2 separate regions of the Homo sapiens genome follow, and region 2 is linked to region 1. The links are contacts of gene promoters, found by promoter capture Hi-C in blood cells and fetal thymus (Javierre and others, 2016). All regions are on one chromosome and are shown on one strand. The core of a region is centred on a gene start or on the middle of the fragment in contact, and the rest is flanking DNA. Distances in the headings are between cores, read along the strand shown.

Evidence for each region. Contacts are between HindIII fragments. The CHiCAGO score rates a contact against its expected background, and 5 or more counts as called.
Region 2: a contact is called between a fragment that was not itself captured here and the fragment with the promoter of NPBWR1 in region 1, in 3 of 17 cell types (total CD8 T cells, non-activated CD4 T cells and naive CD8 T cells). The highest score is 7.8, in total CD8 T cells.

What each region holds. Positions count from the first base shown.
Region 1 is chr8:52,937,729-52,940,492 of GRCh38, forward strand. NPBWR1 (neuropeptides B and W receptor 1) reads left to right here and starts at 1,454. Exons shown (of 2, transcript NM_005285.5): 1 at 1,454-1,638; 2 at 1,983-2,764. The coding sequence starts at 2,180. RefSeq lists enhancers at 1,629-2,260, 2,261-2,764. The HindIII fragment of the contact is 12,259 bases long and covers 1-1,701 here.
Region 2 is chr8:52,752,965-52,755,769 of GRCh38, forward strand. All of the region lies in intron 2 of LOC105375835 (a long non-coding RNA gene), which reads left to right. Among named protein-coding and RNA genes, the nearest start is that of RB1CC1, 40 kb to the left of the region's middle. The HindIII fragment of the contact is 4,878 bases long and covers 1-2,805 here.

The DNA.
Region 1 (2,764 bases), core at 204-2,703:
ACAGAAAGTGAGTCCTCCCTTTGCCCAGCGTTTCCCTGCTGTCTACAATATCCACCTGTTAGTCACTTCACAATCTGGGTTATTAGATGACTGTGGCAATGACCAGTGTGGTGTCTTCAAGTTGCCTTGATTTTACTGACTTTTTGCCCTTATTTCTCTCTGGCTCCAAAGTGCAAGAGAAGTGATGCTGGCAATTCAGATATGCCAAAGAGAAGCTGCAAATGCCTCCTTTAAGTTAAAAGGTAAAAATTCTGGACTTAATAAGGAAAGAAAAAAAATCATATGCAGAGGTTGCCAAGATCTACTAAAAACAAATCTATCCACGAAAATGTGAAGAAGAAAAAAGAAATGCATGCTAGTTTTGCTGTTGCATCATTTTTGGATGGAAGAACAGAAACATGTTCCCATTGACCGCAATGGGTACTATCCATGGTTTCAGGCATCCACTGGGGCTCTTGGAACCTATCCCCCATAGGTATGGGGGGGCTACTGTATTTCTGGCCCCACAGTCTTCTACTGCCGACTTTAGGTCTCTCTGGATCTCAGGCCCCCTTCTCTAAGATGCATCCTAGAGGACCAAAAATACACTTTATTTGGGCTTCGCCTGCTTTTGTGGAAGGGTAGTTTACTAGAGGATATAATCTCGTGTTTTAATTTGCTCTCTCTCCTAAAGGAAATGTGGAGAAAAAAAAAAAGCAGAAATTGGAAATAACCAATATTTAGTTTATTTCATTCGATTCTTAGGGGAACTGGTGAGGAGCCTAAGATGATTTTCCCTTCCTAGAGAAAGAATCCAAAGTCCAGGGAAATAGCGACAGGGGAGTTCAAGACTGCCCCTGCTAGTCCTTCCTTGGCTACTCTCCGCTGCGATCGCAGGATAGCTCTCATTAGCAGGAGAATCGGGCAAGTGTGTGGATAAGTAGAGAGTGTGTTGAACAACTTGTAACGTTTTATGAAATACGCATTGTCATGGTTCCCTAAAAGGCTTTGCGGAAGCCGTTTGTCTTTACTAATCAAGTCTTTACTTACACAAAAGTAGAAGTAGAAGTAGTTTTAGAAAACATACTAACAATCTTCTATCCCCTTGAAGACCAGAGTAGCAGAAAACAGGTGATTTGCATTATAAAATTGCACTCACTTTTTCCTCCTTTCAGATTTCACATTACATTAGCCTATTTGTGTTACGGTGTATAAAAAATGGAACAGGCGCCTCCACTACATTGTTCTCCTTTAAAAATAGATCACTTACACCCTAACTTTGTTTTCCTTAAATTCGATTCTTAACAGGAGAGCTTTCTATTATTTCAGATGGAGTGAGGTTGCACGACTGGGATGGAAGAAAGGAATCCCTTAAATTTGGGGGAATTTCTGTTCTCTGTTCTAAGACCATTTTACTTGGGGTGTGGGGGTGGGCGCGGCGGTCAGGGCAGTGGAACGCAGTCGCGGCTGCGCCATCCCTGCACTTCCAGGCGCGCGGGAGGGACCGGCGGGGACGCGAGCTGCGGACTCTGGCGAACTCGGGGGAGGCAGACAGGGGGAGGCGGACACCCAGCCGGCAGGCGTCTCAGCCTCCCCGCAGCCGGCGGGCTTTTCTCCTGACAGCTCCAGGAAAGGCAGACCCCTTCCCCAGCCAGCCAGGTAAGGTAAAGACTGCTGTTGAGCTTGCTGTTACTGAGGGCGCACAGACCCTGGGGAGACCGAAGCTTGCCACTGCGGGATTCTGTGGGGTAACCTGGGTCTACGGAAGTTTCCTGAAAGAGGGGAGAAGGGTTTGCATTTTTCCTATGGAGGATTCTTCTCTCTCTAGCATTTCGTTTGATGTATTCAACTGGTAGAAGTGAGATTTCAACAGGTAGCAGAGAGCGCTCACGTGGAGGAGGTTTGGGGCGCCGCGGCGCCACCCCCACCCCTCCTCGGGACCGCGCCTATTTCTAAAGTTACACGTCGACGAACTAACCTATGCTTTAAATTCCTCTTTCCAGCCCCGTGAGTCCGCGGCGACATTGGGCCGTGGGGTGGCTGGGAACGGTCCCCTCCTCCGGAAAAACCAGAGAACGGCTTGGAGAGCTGAAACGAGCGTCCGCGAGCAGGTCCGTGCAGAACCGGGCTTCAGGACCGCTGAGCTCCGTAGGGCGTCCTTGGGGGACGCCAGGTCGCCGGCTCCTCTGCCCTCGTTGAGATGGACAACGCCTCGTTCTCGGAGCCCTGGCCCGCCAACGCATCGGGCCCGGACCCGGCGCTGAGCTGCTCCAACGCGTCGACTCTGGCGCCGCTGCCGGCGCCGCTGGCGGTGGCTGTACCAGTTGTCTACGCGGTGATCTGCGCCGTGGGTCTGGCGGGCAACTCCGCCGTGCTGTACGTGTTGCTGCGGGCGCCCCGCATGAAGACCGTCACCAACCTGTTCATCCTCAACCTGGCCATCGCCGACGAGCTCTTCACGCTGGTGCTGCCCATCAACATCGCCGACTTCCTGCTGCGGCAGTGGCCCTTCGGGGAGCTCATGTGCAAGCTCATCGTGGCTATCGACCAGTACAACACCTTCTCCAGCCTCTACTTCCTCACCGTCATGAGCGCCGACCGCTACCTGGTGGTGTTGGCCACTGCGGAGTCGCGCCGGGTGGCCGGCCGCACCTACAGCGCCGCGCGCGCGGTGAGCCTGGCCGTGTGGGGGATCGTCACACTCGTCGTGCTGCCCTTCGCAGTCTTCGCCCGGCTAGACGACGAGCAGGGCCGGCGCCAGTGCGTGCTAGTCTTTCCGCAGCCC
Region 2 (2,805 bases), core at 218-2,717, 180 kb before region 1:
GTTCACATAGCTAAAACTTTATTTGCCTCAATAGATAATCTAATAAAAGCTGTGAACCAAAATTTCTGGTAAAGAAGTTTGGTTTTAAAAACATTTTGGTCAGGTGTGGTGTGGTAATCCCTATAATCTCAGCACTTTGGGAGGCCAAGACAGGAGGATTGCTTGAGGCCAGCAATTCAAGACCAGTCTAGGCAACATAGTGAGACTCCCATCTCTATAATTTTTTTTTTAATTAACTGGGCATGATGCAACATGCCTATAGTCCTAGCTGAGGCAGAAGGATCCCTTGAGCTCAGGAGTTCAACGGTGCAGTGAGCTAAGAAGGTGCCATTGCACTGCAACCAGGGTGACAGAGTGGGACCTTGTCTCTAAAATATATAAAATAGCCTGGCGCAGTGGCTCACACTTGTAATCCCAGCACTTTGGGAGGCCGAGGCAGGAGTTCGAGACCAGCCTGGCCAGCATGGTGAAACCCTGTTTCTACTAAAAATACAACAATTAGCTGGGCTTGATGGCGGGTGCTTGTAATCCCAGCTACTCGGGAAGCTGAGGCAGGAGAATCCCTTGAACCTGGGAGACGGAGGTTGCAGTGAGCCAAGATCACGCCATTACACTCCAGCCTGGGCAACAGAGCGAGACTCCATCTCAAAAAAATAAAAATAAACATAAAATAAAATATATAAAATAAAGCAAACATTTCCTTTACCACCACCCCCTTTTTATTTTTTTAGTTTCAAATAAGTTTTGCTAGGACTGGCTGGCTTAACTGTATAAGAAAAACAAAATCTCCAATAGCCTTGAATTTTTAGTAACAAATCTATCTTTTGTTTGCTGGTTTCATTGGCTTGACTAGTCACTGCAGGTAGGGAAGCATTAACAATTTTTACAGCTTTTTTAGAAAAATTTAATCTTTGATGGAATGCCATAAACAGTGAGTTTTATCTCAACATCAGCGAAAAAAATCAGCAGATTCAAAGTAGGCAGAGAAAAAAGAGTGATAGAGAACTTAGCTCTATATGGTAACTCTTATCATTGCAGGTTTTTTAGAGTTCCAATCAGGACCATTAAATCTCTGAATTTTTCTTGATGTAATTTGCCCATTGATTTTAAAATGTACACAAGAATGGGCCATAATATGTAACCAGCTGGAGTCCAGAGAACTTGGCATGCTTTAATGTTTGGGAATCCCATTCTGTTTCTTATTAATCTCTCAAGAGCTAAGACAATCCTATAAATTCTGTCAGAGAATGCCAGGAGTTTAGTTCAGTGTTTAGACAGTGGCAGCCACCCTAGTGGTAGTTTAGCCACCCTGCTCACACTATTTTTGTTTACTTTTGCTCTTGGAAGATTTTTGGATACAAGCAAGGAAGAAGAGCCAAATTACTTACAGACACATACAACCAAACCAAAATCAAAGTGCTCACAAAAATTTTAACCCAGGTTGTGCAGATCAAATAAAATGTTAAATGAGTCATGCAGAAATAATAAAAAGTAAAACAAACAAACAAACTAAACCTCGAAGGCAAATTCACCAGAAAAGACATGCCTCAGTGACAGAACATAAATTTTGTAGAAACCAGAGTACTCAAACCAGGACACTTGTCTTTATACCAAAAAAGACTTGGCAGAAGAGACAAAAAGTATTTTATTATACCAGAAGGGATGTAATGTCCTTTATTGAAGATGGCCTTATAACCAAAATAAATCCTGAATAAAGTAAAAAAAAAAAAAAAAAAACTCAAAATGAGGGAGACTTTGCCTGACAAAAGACTCACCAAAGAAGAGAAAGTAAGCTGTGGAAGCAGAGAGCTCAAATGGCTCAAGTGAGTACTGCACACTGGTTCTAAGAGTTGTTGATTCCTTCAGAAAGTGATCTTGTCCCAGGTCTGCTTCTGGGCACCATTTCAGACTACCCAAATAAACAGAGAAGGATCTCTAAAATAAATACTATTGGTTGGGCATGGTGGCTCACTCCTGTAATCCCAGCACTTTGGGAGGCCGAGGCAGGCTGATCACCTGAGGTCAGTTCGAGACCAGCCTGACCAACATGGAGAAACCCCGTCTCCACTAAAAATACAAAATTAGCTGGGCATGGTGGTGCATGCCTGTAATCCCAGCTACTCGGGAGGCCGAGGCAGGAGAATCACTTGAACCCAGGAGGCAGAGGTTGCAGTGAGCCGAGATCGCACCATTGAACTCCAGCCTGGGCAACAAGAGCGAAACTCTGTCTCAGAAAAAAAAAAAATACTATTTATTCCTGAATAGGGCATTGCAGTGGGAATATGCACATAGTTTATCATGGTTTACTATGGCACATGTATTACTATCACAATGCCATATTCCTAAATAAATACCTTTTTTTTTGAAAAAGAGAGCTCTGTTTGACATGTAGATTGACAAAAGCAATTGCAAAGAGACAGCATGACTGTGGCCTGAAAAACTTTTCTAATGCTATTGTTTAAAACTGTTTTAATGAAACCTAAAAGCATATACAGGCCGGGTGCGGTGGCTCATGCCTGTAATCCCAGCACTTTGGGAGGCTGAGGCAGGCAGATCACTTGAGCCCAGGAGTTCAAGACCAGCCTGGCCAACATGATGAAACCCCGTCTACTAAAAATAGAAAAATTAGCCAGGCATGGTGGCACCCACCTGTAATCTCAGCTACTCAGGAGGGTGAGGCAGGAGATTTGCTTCAACCTGGGAGGCGGAGGTTGCAGTGAGCCAAGATCGCTCCACTGCACTCCAGCCTGGGTGATACAGTAAGACTCCGTCTCAAAAAACAAACAAACAAACAAACACCAAAAA